Regions from separate parts of the Homo sapiens genome. Here region 2 is linked to region 1. Evidence: promoter capture Hi-C in 16 types of primary human blood cells and fetal thymus (Javierre and others, 2016). All regions are on one chromosome and are shown on one strand. The core of a region is centred on a gene start or on the middle of the fragment in contact, and the rest is flanking DNA. Distances in the headings are between cores, read along the strand shown.

Region 1 (4,711 bases), core at 861-3,360:
TGATGGCCCGTCTGGTCTATACTCAAACCATGTCCTTCTTAACTCTTCCACCATCCCTATCCCTCTGACCTCACCTCAAACCCCAGCTGTTGTTAGCAATTCCACCATCAAAGTCTCTTATCTGTGCTCTCCAACCTGGGCTTCTATTAACTCTTCCAACCTAAATCAACCCTTAATTTTACCTTGAACTGGGGAATCTGTTATCCATTCCACTATTAATGGGTTTGGATCTAGAGAGAGAATTCAGGGCTTTGAGGGTGGAAAATTAATAATCCTGGGTCTATGTGTTAAGCTTGAGTTTCTGTTCACTTTTCCATCACCAGGGCAATTTACATGTGAATCTTTTTGCATGTCTGTTAACTCTTTCCCCATTACTGCCCCTCAGTTCTTGCTCACTGCAACCTCCACCTCCCAGGTTCTAGTGATTCTCATGCTTCGGCCACCCAAGCAGCTGGAATTACAGGCATGCACCACCACGTCTGGGTAATTTTCGTATTTTTAGTAGAGACAGGTTTTCGCCAAGTTGGCTATGCTGAGTCCTGGCTTCAAGTGATCTGCCTGCCTCCACCTCCCAAAATGCTGGGATTATAGGAGTGAGCCACTACGCTCTGCATCCCTCAGATCTTTACACTGACTGCAGGCCTCAGTTGAGTCCTCTCCATCTATGATCCTTTGGTATGTACAGAAAATCAAGGCTGTACTAACTTTTTAGCTACTTGTGCCCCTTCTCCTGTATCCACCAACCCCAATCCTCAGTTAACATTTATTTTTATAGAGATGGAGTCTCACTATGTTGCCCAGACTGGTCTTGATCTCCTGGGCTCACATGATCCTCCCGCCTCAGCCTCCCAAAGTCCTGGGATTACAGGTGTCAGCCACTGTGCCCGGCCCTCAGTTAACATTTTTTTCTTATTTTTATTTTTTGAGACAGAGTTTTGTCTCTCCCCCAGGTTGGAGTGCAGTGTCACAGTCTTGGCCCACTGCAACCTCCACCTCCCAGGTTCAAGCGATTCTCATGCCTCAGCCTCCCAAGCAGCTGAGACTACAGGCATGTGCCACCACATCTGGCTAAATTTTGTATTTTTAGTAGAGATAGGGTTTTGCCATGTTGGCCAGGCTGGTCTCTAACTCCTGGCCTCAAGTGATCCTCCCGCCTTGGCCTCCCAAAGTTCTGAGATTGCAAGTGTTAGCCACTGTGCCCAGCCCTCAGTTAACATTTTTATCATGAATGCCATTTGGTTTGACTTTGAAGTCAGACCTTGATTAATTCTTCCACCATCATTACCCCTTTGGTATAGGCTGTGAATTCCGGGGCTCTGTTAACCACATCACGTGACTTTAATGGGTCTCTGGTCTTGGCTCAGATTTGGGTCTAAGTTAACCTTCCATTTAAGGCCTCTCTGAAATAACTTTGGAATTGGGTTACTATTGCACCACCAGTGCCCCTCTGATTTGATCTTCAAGCAGGATATTTGTTAATGTTTTCTCCATCCATACACCCTGATAGAGGTCTTGAATCCTAGGACTTTCTTAACTATTGTAACCATCAGAGTTCCCGTTTTGTATCGAACATGAACCTTTGTTAACTCTGCAATCCTGTTCCGGGCTGACTTCCAATCCAGCCCTTTGTTAAGTCGTCTAAAACCAATGTCCCTTAGGTTTTACCTCGAACCTCTGACTCTATGAACTCTTTTAGTTTTGATACGGGCTGCAAAAGGCCATATAAGCCTACTTGAACTAGGGCAGGCAGAAGTCCAGGCTGTAAATGACAGGTGAAGGTGGGCCCTTCCGTGTTCAAAGGAGCCAATGGAGGACCGGTGGGCAGTGAGTGACAGATGGGGGCGGGTCCTGACGCCAAGCAGGAACAATAGGAAGGCGGCAGGGCGCCGAGGCCAGGTGGGGAGAAGTGGGCGGGTATGTGTGAGCCCCCTGAAAGGCTGCATGATGTCAAAGGTCTCTTCCCTTTCTCCAGACGTTTTAGGAATTCGCTTCTGCGGAGGAATCTCCCGGGGGGTGCTCTGTCCAGCCTTCCCACTTTCCCCGTTTCCCACCCTGCCATGTCGCCACGCCTTTGCTCAGGCCGTGCCTCTTCTGGTGGCCGGGAACGCCCACTCACCCGGACAAGTCGCGGCCCTTCCAAGCCTCACACTGCTTTCGTAGGATCAATTCCGAATACCCAAACTCGGAGATATCACGAGGACTCCCCCGGGCCCCCAAACGCACCTCTCCTCTGGCTGGAATGGGAGCCTCCAGAAGCAGTGCGAGACCACGGCCAGCGACAGAGGTCCTGGCGCTGGCGGAATGACGCCATTTTTGTTACTGGTAGAGCTCGGCTTCGTGGCTGTTTCGGAGCCACCGAAAGATAAGCTCCCTCGTCACCCTGACATCTCTCCGGGAAGACTGGAAGGGAAATGGCCTTTCGGGGGATGTTGAACGCATTTGGGCAGGCGGGGAGCCAAGCCCGGCTTGAGAGCAGAGCCGGGGTGAGGGGCCTGGCTGAGTGCTGCGGGTCTATGTGATCAGTGACGGATGGAGACAAGTGGAGGGCCTGAGGAGGGGATTGAGTGACGTGGAGAACAGTGATAGGGGAGCCTGTGGGACCAGGGGTAACAGTATGTGGGTTATGCAAATGGGAGTTTGTGGGGTGATGGGGGATCTGTGCGGTGTTTGATGATGTCTGTAAGGGTGAGTGATGGGGCTTCTATGGGATGGGTGAAGGGAGTCTGGGGTGAGTGATGGGTGGTCTGTAGGGTGAGGGATGCTGATCCGTGGGGTGAGTGGATAGGGGGATCTGGGGTGAGGGATGAGGGTCTATGAGGACAAGAATGGGAGTGTGTGTGGGGTCAGTGTTGACATTCTGTGGGGTCCATGATGGGTGGCTTTTTCAGATCAATCATATGTGCATGAATGAACAAAAATCTCTGCTCCTGTGGTGTCCACATTCCGATGGAGAAGTCCAACTTGGTGGTTTGATTTGTATTTCCCTCATGACCAATAAGTTTGAGCACATTTTCTTATATGGATTCATCACTTGGAGATCTTCTTTTGTGAGGGGCCTGTCTTTTGTTCATTTTTCTGTTGGACTCTCTGCCCTTTTCTTAATGATTTGTAGGAATTTTTTTTTTTTTTTTTTTTTTTAGACGAAGTCTCACTCTGTCGCCCAGGCTGGAGTGCAGTGGAGAAATCATGGTTCACTGCAACCTCCACCTCCTGGGTTCTAGCAATTATCCTACCTCAGCCTCCCGAGTAGCTGGAATTACAGGCGCCTGCCACCACGCCTGGCTGATTTTTTTGTATTTGTAGTAGAGACAGGGTTTCGCCATGTTGGCCAGGCTGGTCCCGAACTCTTGACCTCAGGTGATACACCCACCTCGGCCTCCCAAAGTGCTGGGATTACAGGTGTGAGCCACCGTGCCCGGCCAGGAATTGTTTTTATATATTCTGATACCACTCCTTTAGTAGTGGTATGTGTTTTGCAAATATCTCCTTCCAGCTTTTGGCTTCTCTTTTCATTTTATGGCTTTAAATATGAAGATTTTCAGTTAATTTTGAACTGTAAAGCACATTCTTCAGTTAAAAAGCAGACAATATCGGCTGGGCGTGGTGGCTCACACCTATAATCCCAGCACTTTGGGAGGCCGAGGCGGCCGGATCACGAGGTCAGGAAATCGAGACCATCCTGGCTAACACGGTGAAACCCCGTCTCTACTAAAATTACAAAAAAATTAGCTGGGCGTGGTGGCGGGCTCCTGTAGTCCCAGCTACTGGGGAGGCTGAGGCAGGAGAATGGAGTGAACCAGGGAGGCGGAGCTTGCAGTGAGCCGAGATCGCGCCACTGCACTCCAGCCTGGGCGACAGAGCGAGACTCCATCTCAAAAACAAAAAACAAAAAACAAAAAAAAAAAAAACAGACAATGTCCTGTGGAATTTAGGAGGATAACTAATTTTTTAGGGCATCCAGAAGCAAGGGGTGTTGCCTGAAAATCTTAGTGCTAGGACAGCTTGGGAGGAGTTCTTTACTTTTTGTTCCTCTACCACCTCGCTCTAAATCACTGGCAGTGTGATCTTAGACAACTCATGAAACCTCTCTAGGCATCAGTTTCCCACTGCGAAATGAGGATAATAGCAGGGCCTACCCTGTGAGGCTTGGGATGAGAAGTGAGTTAATACCTGAATGTTACCTATTCGCCATAGTTTTGCAGCACTAATTTTGTATATATTTCATGGATCTTCCTTGAACTCAAGGTTACTGCTGCTCATGTAATACCAAAATCTGGTGAAGGAAATTAAATACCAAGGAATAAGGTTTTGTCAGCTATGGTTGCTTTGGAGGGTCACAACCCATTGTAATATCTAAGAAGCTTTTTTTTGTTTTTGTTTTGTTTTGTTTTGTTTTGCCTCCAAGAACTAATTTTTGTCCCCTTGGGGGCAGTATCACCCCCCAGTGAGAATGTGTGATCTACATGGTATTTTTTTTTTGTTTTCTTTTCTTTTCCTTTTTTTTTTTCTTTGACAGGGTCTCATTCTGTTGCCCAGGCTGGAGTGCAATGGCGTGATCTCAGCACATTGCAACCTCCGCCTCCCGGATTCAAGTGACTCTCCTGCCTCAGCCTGCCAAGTAGCCAGGACTACAGGTGTGCACCACCACGCCCGGCTAATTTTGTTTATTTTTTGTAGAAACGAGGTCTCACTATGTTGCTCAGGCTGGCCT
Region 2 (4,711 bases), core at 696-3,195, 500 kb before region 1:
TGCACTCACCTCTAGAGTAGCTGCGACCACGCCCATGGGCCCCAAAGCCACCTCCTCTGGTTCCCCGAGCAGACTTGCCTGCATGATCCACACGGATCTGACGACCATCCAGAGACTAAGTGTGGGAGACACAAGGATGATGGGTTGGCAGTCAGTCAGGGCAATGGTGAGGGAAGAGCAGGCAAGGGTAAGTGGGCAAAAGAGGCCAAAAATTCCTGCTGGGCACCAGGTTCTGGGTGCCATGTTCCAGAATAAGCTCCTTTACCCCAGAATGGCTTCATCAGGAGCTATAGAATCCCACACAAAATGACCTGAATGCACCATGTTCCCCTTGCTACTACTTACATCTTGACTGAACTCAGGCTGAGTTCTCCTCCCCACTCCTCTAAGCTGCCCGACTATCAGGGCTAGACAGACACCTCTCTTGGTTTGAGGCTTCAGAGTCCATGTCAGAAGACTCACGAGGTCCTCTCCGGGCCAGGCCCACAGGTCTGCAGACTCTACTACCTAAGCCCAAGGCAGGTCAACCATCCACAGGTGGCTTCTCGGCCTCATGCAGGACCAGTCGTCGCCTCCCAGGCGGCCAGGCTCTGTCTGCCGCTGCCCTCCACCCCCTAGAACAAAAGGCAGTCATGCTCCTGTGAGTGGGCACTGCGGGGCTTGGTGGCCACGCTGCCCCGAGCAGACACAGAGGGAAAAACAAAAAGAATGAAGGAAGCCGCAGATGGGGACAAGGTCCCTCTGCAGATAGGAGGCCCCACCTCTCCGTTCATGGCTCTCATGGCAACTGAAGCATGCTCTGGGTTGGTGAAGGTGATGAAACCAAAACCCCTGGACCGCTGAGTCTCCCGGTCCTTGACAACGACCACTGTGAGAGGGAGAGAAGATGGAGCAATGTGGACCAGTCAGTACCCCAAAGGTTAAGTAGCAAAGGGTGGCCGGAAAAGGAGATGGCATAGGTAGGGAAAACGGAGCGCTCCCACTAATCCCAAAGACGCTTCCCCTCATCCTTAGTCTACACCATAGGCTTAGGAAGAAAAAGAATTTGGAGGCGTGGGTCCTAACTTTTCAGTTAATACTCCTTGAAATGCAAGGATCCCAGACTTTCTCTCACCAACCCCCATTGTGAGTATGGCCCGTCTCACCCTCAGAGATAGGTCCGAAACTGCTGAAGTGGTCTTCCAGTGCCTGCTCGTCGGTGTTAAAGTTGAGCCCTCCCACGAAGAGCTTTCCTTCTTCAGAGGACATGGCAGTTCAAGTCCTGTGGGAAGAACATGAAGAATGGTGGCAGGAAGGAGAAAGAAAATGGAGATGTGAGAAAATAGCGAGACGGAAAGCAGAGAAAAAGCACAGAAAATAGACAAGAAAGAGGAACAAAATATGGGTAACTACAGAAAAGCTGAGAAAGGCGGCCAATAAGGTGGTAATCTGAGGAGCTGGCTCAGCGCAGCCACCATTAGGGGGCCACATTGCGCATGCTCTCACATTCATAGCCGCCACGCCCGTCATTTTGTGCCACTGCGCAAGCCCAGAACATCCCTGCGTTCCCTTAACGCCGGCAGAACAAGATGGCGGCGGCCACGTGGGATAAGGAAAGTAAGTGTCGGCTGTCGCGTGGTCACTGCCACCACCGACGCCACCAGTCCCTCCCGGTAGGCCTCACACTCAGATACAGCGCGCCGGCCTCCCACCAACCGAAATGTTTCACCTCCAAGCACGGGACCCGCCCGTCCCAGAGAAAGCCAAGCCTACGTGTCAGTGGCCATTACTCTCCCCACTCGCTATTCCCCGGTCACGGCCGGCGCGGCGCGTGTGTGGCGAGGAGCCGCCGTTTCGCAGGACATATGCAACTTACCTGGAAATTAAAACGTAAAAAACCCGGACGAACAGCGAGCTCGGAGGAGCACAAAAAACAGGGACGGGGCTGCGCCGGAAGACGATTGATAAAGAGTACGTAGCGAGAACGTCCCGGAACGTTCCCCTTGCGCGTCCCGGCGTGCGTGCTGATTGGCTGAGGCCAGCAGGAGCGGAGTGGTGGGGAGAGGAAGGGACAGCAAAGCGAAGGGAGCAGTGTTCTCCGCGAAATGGGGTGTTTCCGGAAATGGGGTGTTTCCGGAAATGGGGTCGACTTTTGAACAGCTGGTGCACCCTAAACGTCAGCATCCCCCCCACAACCGGCTGAGCTGCCTTTATCCCTTCCACAAAGGAACCTTCTCAATCTCATACTACTTGCTGTCCCTGACATCATCCTCCCGTCCTTGCCATCATTTCCCCCGCTGGATCGGATGTCTTCCTCACCATCGTAGTCGTCTTCCTCTAGGTCCCTGCCATTCTCTGATGTTAACCTCCTTCACCTTCTAGTTCTTTAACCTCATACCCTTTAAAGGCCTGACATTTTATCCCCCACCGTCACTGATGTCATCACCCTTCACAGTCCATGATGTCAGACCCAACGTTTTAAGGTTTGACCCTGACTCCTACTCTTTCTCCTCTGTGCTCAACATCTAGCCGCCTGTCATGGGACCCTTTTCCCTGGCGTCATTCCATCTCATCTCTGACTTCAGCCCTCACCCTTGTCTGACTGCTGGCGTGAAGCCAGCCCCTTAATTTTCTCACCAATAGACTGCCTGAGATGGCTTTTACAAAACAGGATGCTGGCCGGGCGCGGTGGCTCACGCCTGTATTCCCAGCACTTTGGGAGGCCAAAGCGGGCGGTTCACGAGTTCAGGAGTTCGAGACCTGCATGGCCAACATGGTGAAACCCCATCTCTACTAAAAATACAAAAAAAAAAAAAAAAAAAAAAAAAGAAAAAAAAAATTAGCTGGGTGTGGTGGCACGTGCCTGTAGTCCCACCTACTCGGGAGGCTGAGGCTGGAAAATCGCTTGAACCCGGGAGGCGGAGGTTGCAGTGAGCCGAGACCACGCCATTGCACTCCAGCCTGGGTGAAAACAAAACAAAACAAAAGAGGATGCTACGATCTTCAGAGGTTGTAAATCCCAATCCATAGAGCAATTTTTGCTCTCTTCGAAAGTAACTGAGCCCTTGCCGGGCGCAGTGGCTCATGCCTGTAATCCCAGCACTTTGGGAGGCCGAAGTGGGCAGATCACAAGGTCAGGAGTTCAAGACTACCCTGGCCAATATGGTGAAACCCTGTCTCTACTAACAATACAAAAAAAAAAAAAAATTAGCCGGGCGTGGTGGTAGGCACCTGTAGTCCCAGCTACTCAGGAGGCTGAGGCGGGATAATCGCTTGAACCCGGGAGGTGGAGGTTGCAGTGAGCTGAGATCATGCCACTGCACTCCAGCTTGGGCGACAGAGCAAGACTCAGTCTCAAAAAAAAAAAAAAAGTAACTGAGCCCTTGATTCACAGAAGGGACTTTCGCAATACACAATAGACTTATCCCAATCAAGTAGTGTCTGAGCCCACTGTTCACAATTTAGTCTTCAGTGTCTTGGCCACCTTTACAATAAATGGATTTGACAGATTTTTCACTTCTGAGCGCCACATCAACGAAGAATAAGTTAGTTTGCCCTCAGAGGCTAAATTTCTTATCCATAGAATGAATTTGCCCAACACAGACCAAATTTGCTAACATACAGAATACAGTACATCCATATTCCTGTTGGGGTAATTCCCATATTTATCTTCCTGTTATTGTCAGGGATTCCTCACATAGTCTAATTATTAATCCCTTAGGTGTTGGAAATAGCCTCTCCAGCTCTGGCATTTGTGTTATTAACTTTGTAAGCAGTAAACTTAGTTGAATAAAGATCCATAATTTTGATATAATCATTTTTCCCCCTATGTTCTGTGCTTTTTTCTGAGACGGAGTCTCACTCTGTCGCTCAGGCTGGAGTGCAGTGGCATGATCTCAGCTCACTGCAACCTCCGCCTCCCAGGTTCAAGTGATTCTCCTGCTTTAGTCTCCTGAGTAGCTGGGATTACGGGCATGTGCCACTATGCCCAGCTAATTTTTGTATTTTTAGTAGAGATGAGGTTTCACCATGTTGTTCAGGCTGTTCTCAAACTCCTGACTTCATGATCCGCCTGCCTCGGCCTCCCAAAGTGCTGGGATTACAGGCGTGAGCCACCACGCCCGGCCTGGTCTGTGCTTTTAAAGAAATCATTCTCTTTCCCAGGTCACAAAATGTTCCCCTACAGTTTCTTTCTTTCTTTCTTTTTTTTTTTTTTTGACAGAGTTTCGCTCTTGTTGCCCAGGCTGGAGTGCAATGGCACTATCTCGGCTCACTGCAACCTCCGCCTCCTGGGTTCAAGCAATTCTCCTGCCTCAGCCTGCTGCGTAGCTAGGATTACAGGTGTGTGCCACCACACCTGGCTAATTTTTGCATTTTTAGTAGAGACAGGTTTTTGCCATGTTGGCCAGGCTGGTCTTGAACTCCTGGCCTCAAGTGATTCGCCTGCCTCGGCCTCCCAAAGTGCTGGGATTACAGGCATGAGCCACCGCACCCGGCCACATTTAGGTCTTTAATCCATGTAGAGTTCGTCCTTGTATATGGTGTGAGATAGAGCTCCAATTTTATTTTTCTCTGTGTCATGAGCCAGATGCCCCATCACCATCTATTAAGCAATCTGTCCCATCCCTGTGTGTGTTTTACCACCTCTATCATGTATCAAGTTCCATAGATATATGGGTCTGTCTCTGAGGTGGTTTGTTGCTGGTTTTGTTGTTATTGTTGTTTTTAAGAG

What was found. The method cuts DNA at HindIII sites, captures the fragments that hold promoters and counts their contacts. A CHiCAGO score of 5 or more calls a contact.
Region 2: the fragment with the promoter of RBM3 here is called in contact with the fragment with the promoter of ZNF630 in region 1 in 8 of 17 cell types (naive CD4 T cells, total CD8 T cells, total CD4 T cells and 5 more); the score reaches 8.0 in naive CD4 T cells.

The regions. Positions count from the first base shown.
Region 1 is chrX:48,069,039-48,073,749 of GRCh38, reverse strand. ZNF630 (zinc finger protein 630) reads left to right here and starts at 2,110. Exons shown (of 5, transcript NM_001282201.2): 1 at 2,110-2,483. RefSeq lists a silencer at 1,772-1,968 and an enhancer at 1,880-2,139. The HindIII fragment of the contact is 4,069 bases long and covers 295-4,363 here.
Region 2 is chrX:48,571,718-48,576,428 of GRCh38, reverse strand. It overlaps RBM3 (RNA binding motif protein 3), which reads right to left and starts at 1,945. Exons shown (of 7, transcript NM_006743.5): 1 at 1,856-1,945; 2 at 1,146-1,261; 3 at 762-868; 4 at 10-115. The coding sequence starts at 1,248. RefSeq lists enhancers at 1,618-1,887, 871-2,070 and a cis regulatory region at 1,827-2,812. The HindIII fragment of the contact is 13,325 bases long and covers 1-4,711 here.